Linked DNA regions of Homo sapiens: region 2 is linked to region 1. Evidence: promoter capture Hi-C in human tissues and cell types (Jung and others, 2019). All regions are on one chromosome and are shown on one strand. Each heading gives the region's core, a stretch centred on a gene start or on the middle of the fragment in contact. The rest is flanking DNA. Distances are from core to core; before and after follow the strand shown.

Evidence for each region. The method cuts DNA at HindIII sites, captures the fragments that hold promoters and counts their contacts. A contact is called where the count stands out against the background at its distance.
Region 2: a contact is called between a fragment that was not itself captured here and the fragment with the promoter of HDAC8 in region 1, in 2 of the 25 tissues and cell types used here (adrenal gland and ovary).

The regions. Positions count from the first base shown.
Region 1 is chrX:72,570,398-72,574,509 of GRCh38, reverse strand. HDAC8 (histone deacetylase 8) reads left to right here and starts at 1,667. Exons shown (of 11, transcript NM_018486.3): 1 at 1,667-1,859; 2 at 2,401-2,453. The coding sequence starts at 1,749. RefSeq lists an enhancer at 1,575-1,704. The HindIII fragment of the contact is 13,628 bases long and covers 1-4,112 here.
Region 2 is chrX:72,503,641-72,508,098 of GRCh38, reverse strand. All of the region lies in intron 4 of HDAC8 (histone deacetylase 8), which reads left to right. Among named protein-coding and RNA genes, the nearest start is that of HDAC8, 67 kb to the left of the region's middle. The HindIII fragment of the contact is 5,612 bases long and covers 90-4,458 here.

The sequences.
Region 1 (4,112 bases), core at 418-2,917:
CAGAGCAAGACTCCTCTGTCTCAAAAAAAAAAAAAAAAAAAAAAAGAATGCAAATTCCTTGAGAGCAGAGATCACATCATAATTTACCTTTGAATCCTCAGCTGTACTGTACACTTAATATCAGATAAATGTTTGATGAATGAATGACTGCAGAGCTTTTAACTAGTTACTATGGGAAGACATAAATTAAAGAAACATAAGATCTTACATTCTAGTTACAGAGCACATCACCAAAACACCCCCAAGATTTTCAGAATAAGTATTGAAGGGATACAAAATGGAGGGTGAACAAAGTTATATCATAACACAAAGTCATCCTGGACGAATCAAGTTTATATAATAAAGGGAATGTTCAAAGGCTTCAGTGTCAGGCTGACCTAATTTTGAATTCCTACTTATCTGCTTGTTAAGTATGTGATTTTGAATGTTGTTTCTCTAAACTGCATCTGTAAAATGGGTGTATTGCAACCTCCTTTATAGGACTGTTGCAAGGATGAAATGAGATAATATGGCCAATGTGCATGTCACAATCTTCAATAAATGTTTAAAGTCTAAAAAGCAAGCCAGACTTTAAATATAGTAAGGATATTAGGTTGTCCCAGTGGTGTTAGTCAGTCAGTTTAGGTTGCCATGAGAATTAAGATCCTGAGCACTGGCCAGCTTGTATCAGATCATAGGGGCCTCCAGGAACCTCCAAATGCTGATGGTAATTCTAAAACCGCCTCAGATAGTCTTAAACTGGACCCTCACACCAAACCTAAAATATTTCCCTAATCTATGTTTAGCTGCAGAAACAAGAGGAGGTAGGAGGAGAAGAGCTGCAGTTTCCAAACACCACTGCTTGCAACCTTCCTACCACATGAATGTTCAAGGAGTTACATTTGACATCATTGCTTGATCGGAATCTACCAAGCAATTTCCACTGCACCAGCCAGTCTCTTGGGAAAGTACTATCAGATTTGCCAGAGTAAATTATTGAGATTGTTAACTCTCATGTGGACATGGATAGTTAATGATGAAAAGAAATGAACTATAAAATTGCATCACAGAATTTACTGTGTAAACTTTTCAAACCATTTGTGCCATTAAATAGCGCCCCCACCAAAAAAAAAAAAAAAAAAAAAAAGCCTATCCTTAGGATAGGCAGCTGATGTAGCTGGATGGTGGGGGCTCTAGGTGGCCACGTTCTATCTGTGTTTATATGGTTAAATGGATGAAATGGATGTGTTTGCAGATTGAAACAATTCATAAAGAGTTGAGGCTACTTTTTTTTTTTTTTTTTTTTGGTCTTAGCGCTGAAACTAAAAATCGCGGTTATTTTAGTGTTTAGCCCCGGCTCTTCCGTTGCTCAAACCTCCGGAAACTACATCTCCCAGCATGCTGTGAAACTGGTCTGACTTCATCTCAAATGGCCCCGTAGGGCAACAAGGATGGTTAGTTTTGACCCTACTTATTTGTGCCATAAAAACAATCGATCCTAATTGACAGCTATTTGGACTTTTACATCTGCCAAACCCTTTTCCTTGAACTGTGGTCACTAAATGAGGGGAGTCTGGTCTGGGAAGTCCCATCCATTCCTTCAATAGGATGGGGAGCGGTGATAGTGTCTCCGGCGATCTCAAGAATAGGAGGGAATGTTGACCAGGGAGCACCGCTGCGGCCGATCAGAGGAGCAGGAACTGGAACCCTGGCCGAGTCCGAAAAAAGCCAGATCTGGAAGGTGGCTGCGGAACGGTTTTAAGCGGAAGATGGAGGAGCCGGAGGAACCGGCGGACAGTGGGCAGTCGCTGGTCCCGGTTTATATCTATAGTCCCGAGTATGTCAGTATGTGTGACTCCCTGGCCAAGATCCCCAAACGGGTAAGGGAAGTCGGGATGAAAGACCATGGGCTTTGGGGGTGGGGGTGGGGGCGGTGGACGAAAGAGCGTTAGGAAGCGGAGAGGACACTGGGCTGGGGGAAATCTTCAGAAATTTCGAGTAGCTGTATCAGATACCTAAAGCTGTATCAGAAGGAAGTGTTCTCATATCGTTTCTGAGAGCGCAGCATGTCTCTTCGGGACGTCCAATGGACAGGTAGGAGTGGGGGAGGGGGTACGGAGGAGGGGAGAGGACGCAGTTTCCACTCATAGGGGACCGCTGAAGTCGTGGGAAAACAAGCTGCAGGGGGAAGGTGTTCCATCACCTGCCTAAGGCCCGGTAGCTTTCACCTTAGTGATTTTGATACTTTGTATCTGTATTGTCTAAAGTGTATTGTAACTGTTAACAGAAGGGAAGCCAGTTGAAACAAAATTAATCCGTTCCTTTGTTCAGGATGGTGAGATTGACGGGGATTTTGCTGAATTAAACTTTAAAGAGACTATTTCTGCTTTTCTTTTTTTTTTTTTACGCTGATGTTTTTAGGCCAGTATGGTGCATTCTTTGATTGAAGCATATGCACTGCATAAGCAGATGAGGTAAGTTGTCTTTCTTGAACATAGCCCTGAAGCTAGGTGTTCGTAGCCTTAATATCCTGCTTCACAGTGGGGCAAGGAAAAGAATGGTCTTTTGAAAAAATTATTTTAGCTTTCTGTGAAAGTATTCACAGTGTTTGTAATCTGCCTGTAATCCCAAGAAAGCTCTTGAAGAATTAAGAAAACTTGGGGGGCCGAGAGCATGGCTCACGCCTGTAATCCCAGCACTTTGGGAGGCCTAGGTGGGTGGATCGCCTGAGGTCAGTAATTTGAGACCAGCCTGCCCAACATGGCAAAACCCCGTCTCTACTAAAAATACAAAAAAATTAGCCGGACGTGGTAGCGGGCGCCTGTAATCCCAGCTACTCGGGAGGCTGAGGCAGGAGAATCGCTTGAACCCCGGAGGTGAAGGTTGCAGTGAGCCGAGATTGCACCATTGCACTGCAGCCTGGGCAACAAGAGTGAAACTCCGTCTCAAAAAAAAAAAAAAAAAAAAAAAAAAAAAAGAAAGAAAGAAAGAAAAAGAAAAGAAAACTTGGGACAGGGGAGTGGAAAGTGCAGGAAGCAGTTAAGGTTCATTAGAAATACAGCTCGATTGCTTGGTTAAGTATCCCAGGGGTAGGTGCAGTGCATTGTGGAGATTTTGAGTACATTTGGGTATTAAAACCTGTCTCATACAAAAAGGTGTTCAGCTAGGAGGTGTTCCATTTTTCTTTTGATTTCGTTTCATTCTAAGCCAGATTTGAGGGTGTGAGTTCAACCTAAGACTTTTAGACAACCCACCACCAGCACCAAACTTTAATGGGTGAGGCTGGAGACAGATCAAGACCAAAGAAGGCCGGGCGTGGTGGCTCACGCCTGTAATCCTAGTACTTTGGGAGGCTGAGGCAGGCGGATCATGAGCTCAGGAGATCAAGACCATCCTGGCTAACACGGTGAAACCCCGTCTCTACTAAAAATACAAAAAATTAGCCGGGCGTGGTGGCAGGCGCCTGTAGTCCCAGCTACTCGGGAGGCTGAGGCAGGAGAATGGTGTGAACCCGAGAGGCGGAGCTTGCAGTGAGCCGAGATTGCGCCACTGCACCCCAGCCTGGGTGACAGAGTGAGACTCCGTCTCAAAAAACAAACAAACAAAAAAGACCAAAGAAAACTGCCAAGACTGCGCCAGAACTCAAGAGAGAGCTAACTGTTTCTTCCAAAAACATGAACTTGCTGTTTATTGCCATTTCTGTATTTGATGTCGTTATAAGAGCAAATATAACCCTGCCACATATAGGATTACTTATGACAATTTCTGGCCAAATAGGTGAGTGCTCATACCAACTAGTGTGCTATGCTTCATTTATCTCCCAGAAGGTAGTGTAATAATAGGCTTTCAGATTTTATCCTTATTATTAACAAAATCATTTTGTACCTTTTAAAGGGAATTTTTAAGCCTTTTTTTTTTTTTTTTGATGGAGTCTTGCTTTGTCGCGCAGGCTGGAGTGCAGTGGCGCGATCTCGGCTCATTGCAACCTCCGCCTCCCAGGTTCAAGCGATTCTCCTGCCTCAGCCTCCCGAGTAGCTGGGACTACAGGCACGTGTCACCACACCCATTTTAAGCCATTTTTTAACCCATATGGTTTGGTTAACATAGTAACTATATGCCTTCCATTAAAGTTA
Region 2 (4,458 bases), core at 1,646-4,145, 68 kb after region 1:
CTGGCATAAAAGATTGTTGCAAAATCTTTGCCAGTAACAAACTGTTGAACAGAGCAGGTATCTGGTTGTGCCTGGGTAAGGTAGCCACCTGCTTGCTGTTTTACATAAATTTCTTGATGTCGTGATCAAAGCCCCTGACCTTTAATGGACCTAAAATGGCAAATGCACACAAGTAAATACAGTTGACTGAGCCCTGCACTTTTTCTTAAAGATTGATTTTGTGGTTTATAATTCACCAGGGTATTTAAGAAGCAAGATATATCTGGAAAAACAAAAACAAAACAACTGCCAAACCACAACGCTGCAGACACATTTCAGAAATGTGCTTTCAGAAATACGTTTGCAGAACCTGGTCTCTTCCATGAACATGTTTGTGTTGATGATGTGAAAGACAAAATGTACCAGACAATTAAGGAAATGATTTTATTCAGGTATTGCAATAGGGGGAATATTTATTAATGAGGACCAGCTCAAAGAAAATGAAGGAAGCCTGGCATTTTATAGAGACAGGTAAACAAGGGAGTCATCTGTAAGTCTTTTGGGAGTTGTGAGGAAGGATGGAGATGGGTCTTCCCTTGGAATAATGTGTCAGTGTAGGATGGTCACTTGTGGTTAACCTTTTCCTGGAAAACAAAAGGTTGGGGGGGATTTTTTAACCATTACTGCTTTCTAGGGTACACAGGGCTCAGATAAACTTAAATACTGTCATTTCTCTCTTTTGTTTAAAACAAATATCATTTATAATTGAGCCACTCAGAGGAGAACATAAAGCTCCTAAGTGAGGTGAAGCTGAAGTCTAAGAAATAGTCTCTCAAGGACTCTTGTTGGTATTGTTTCTGTAAAGCCACTTGAACCATCTGTTGAGAGACAATGGCAAAGGTCAGTTGTTTTAGGGTCCTGGAAATTAGGCATATTAAAAGAGGGATGGCAATAATGAAAAAAGAAATGTTGGCCAGGTGTGGTGGCTCATGCCTATAATCTCAGCACTTTGGGAGGCCGAGGTGGGTGGATTGCTTGAGCTCGGGAGTTCGAGGCCAGCCTGGGCAACATGGCAAAACCCCGTCTCTACAAAAAATACAAAAAATTATCTGGGTGTGGTGGCATGCACCTGTAGTCCCAGCTACTTGGGAGGCTGAGGTGGGAGGATCACTTGAGCCTGGTGGAGGTTGCGGTCAACTGAGATCATGCTGCTGCATTCCACCCTGGGTGACAGAGTGAGACCCTATCTCAAAAAAAAAGTTAATATAAAAGATTATATTATAGTAAAGAGCCAAGAATTGAACCCTGAAAGTAACCAGTCCAGTGGATTCCAACGCATCAGTGGAAGAGAACTTTTCCATTTTGCAGCACCACTCATGGAGCTAGGGTATGGGTACTCTTGGCAATGTTGTTTGTCCACAGTCTTGGTTACCGCTATGGTTTATATGTGGTTTCCCCCTGCCAAAACTCATGTTGAATTTAATCCCCAATGTTAAGAGGTGGAGCCTAATGGGAGGTATTTGGGTCATGGAGGCAGATATCTCATGAATAAATTAATGCCCTCCTGCAGAAGTGAGTGAGTTTTTATTCTCTCATGGGAATGGATTTGTTCCCACATGACTGAGTTGTTTTAAAGAAGTCTAGTATCCTCAGTTTCTCTCTCTTGCTTTCTCTCTCACCATGTGATCTCTTTGCACACACCTGCTCTCCTTCTGCTTTCTGCCATGAATGGAAGCAGTATGAGGGAGGCCCTTACCAGATGCAGCTGCCCAATTTTGAACTTTCCAGCCACCAGAATTATAAGCCAAACAAACCTCTTTTCTTTATAAGTTATCCAGCCTCAGGTATTCTGTTATAGCAACACTAAATGGACTAAGACAGTCATCTTTCATGTAAAAGGTATGCATGACTTGAGCATTTCTTACAACTTCTATCATAGTCTAGGCAGCAGCTTGTTCAAGGAGAATTCTAGTCATGCATGGTCGGCTGCAGTTCTGTGTTCGTCTAGGTTTATATTGAGCCACTGGAGTTTAGCTTGCAGGGCTGCCTCAGATCCTGGAAAAGAGGGCAAGCTCCAAGACAACTTAGAGTCCCAATAGGGATTTGGGCAGTCGGGTTTTAGTTCTCAGTGACTCTGAGTCAGGTGGGAGGGAGAAAACTTGGAAAAGTTAGTTTGGAGGATATTAGCAAGATATTGAAGTAACCTAGAAGAACTGAAAATTTGGTAAAGATTGACAATTTGGACAAGTTAACAAGATCCAGTTTGATTTACAAGTAGGTGCCAAAACTGGTTTTTCCACAGAAGAAAAGGAAGTCAATTATCTAATTTTTTTTTTTTTAAACAGAGTCTCTTCACCCAGGCTAGAGTGCAGTGGCACAATCATAGCCCACTGCAGCCTCAGACTCCCAGGCTGAAGCAATCCTCCTGCCTCAGCCTCCTGAGTAGCTAGGACTAAAGGTGCATGCCCAGCTAATTTTTAAAACTTTTTGTGAAGATGAGGACTTGAATTCCCAGCCTCAAGCAATCCTCCCACCCCAGCCTCCCAAAGTGCTGGAATTACAGCATGAGCCACTGCGCCTAGCCCTAAGGAAGTCAATTATATCTCCACCAGACAAGATAAAGTTTGCCTATCCATCAGTAACCTGTAGCTTATAAGTAGGTACCAAATAGCTCAAAGACAGTGAATAGGACTAGACTCTGATAACCTAGAGTGGTGTGCCATAGATGAGGCAGAGTTTTCTGCTGAAACACAAAATTTCTCTCTATAGTCACTTCCTTTTGACTAAAGATAATCTCAAGAAAGATTATTCTTGAACGCAAAATAAGGCTGGTCTCAAAAAACAAAAGAAAAATAGTTAAACTGGAGTTCATCAAAATGTAAAGCTTTGGGGCTTCAAAGGATATTTATCAACAAAGTGAAACAACAACCTGCAGAATCGGAGAAAATATGTGCAAATCATATATCCAATAAGTGTGTGACATCCATAATATAAAAAGAACTCTTATAACTCAACAGCAAAAAAAAAATTAAAAAATTTTTAAATTTTTAAAAATTTTAAAAGATTAAAAATTTAAAAATGGGCAAAGGACTTGAATAGACATATCTCCAAAGAAGGTCTACAAATGGACAACAAGCTCATAAAACAATGCTTGACATCATTAGTCATCAGGAAAATGCAAACCAGATCCACAAGTAGATACCACTTCACACATACTAGGATGGCTAGAATTTAAAAACAAAAATAACTGGAAAATAACAAGTGCTGGTGAGGACGTGGAGAAATTGAAGCCCTTATACACTGCTGGCGAGAAAGTAAAATGGTGCAACTACCGTGAAAAACAGTTTGGTCGTTCCTCAAAAGTTAAACATAGAATTACTATATGACCTAAAAATTCCACTTCTAAGTATAAATATTCAAAAGAATTGCAAACAAGTACTCAAACGAATACTTATGCACAAATGTTTATAGCAGCACTATTCACAATAGCCATACAATGAAAACAACACAAATGTTACCCATTCGTCAACAGATGAATGGATAAACACAATGTGGGGTGTGTGGGTGTGTGTGTGTGTGTGATGGAATATTATTCAGCTCTAAAAAAAGAACAGAGTACTGGCACATGCTACAACATGGATGAACCTCAAACACATTATATTAAGTGAAAGAAGCCAGACATAAAAGATCACATATTGTGTGATTACACATATAAAATATCCAAAATAGGTAAATCCATAGAGACCCAACACAGATTACTGGTTGTCAGAGGCTGGAAGGCGGATGAGAGTGTAAGAAGTGAATGTTTAATAAGCATGGGTTTTCTTTTGAGGTAATGGAAATGTTTTAGAACTAGGTTGAGGTGAAGGTTACACAGTATTGTAAAGGTACTAAATGCCACTAAATTGTACACTTTAAAATAATTAATTTTATGTTATGTAAGTTTTGCCTCAATAAGAATATTAAAAAGTAAAAATTAAGTCTCATTAGATTTAGCTTGATTATTTACATAGGCACAGTAAGAATGGTAATTTACCAAATAGACCTTAAGCTTGCTTTGCTCAAAGTTTTCATAAGGAATCTGAATTTGAAATTTTAAAAGCCTATCAAGCTAAGAAGATTTTACTTGCTGCATCTATAAATGTGGGAGAACTGTTCTCTTTTTGAGGTCGACAAAATATCCTAAGCTTCTAAGACTTGCCAGGAAGTAACCTTCCTTACTCAGTTGTAAGGCTGAGAACCCTGTAAGTCAGGTACCAGGCTAGTTTTCCCAAGAGGGCTTTGTATGCATTGGCTCCATAAAGTCAGCCTTAGTTCCTTAAAAGTGTCTGATCATATCTGATTCAGTGAGCATCATTCACAAATATGGCATTCCAGGTAAGGCCTTGGTTACATACCAATGTTTCTAATCATGATCTGGTAAGAAGGGCAGACAGATTTTTATTGAACCAATGCAGATATTTATATTGCTATGAAAAT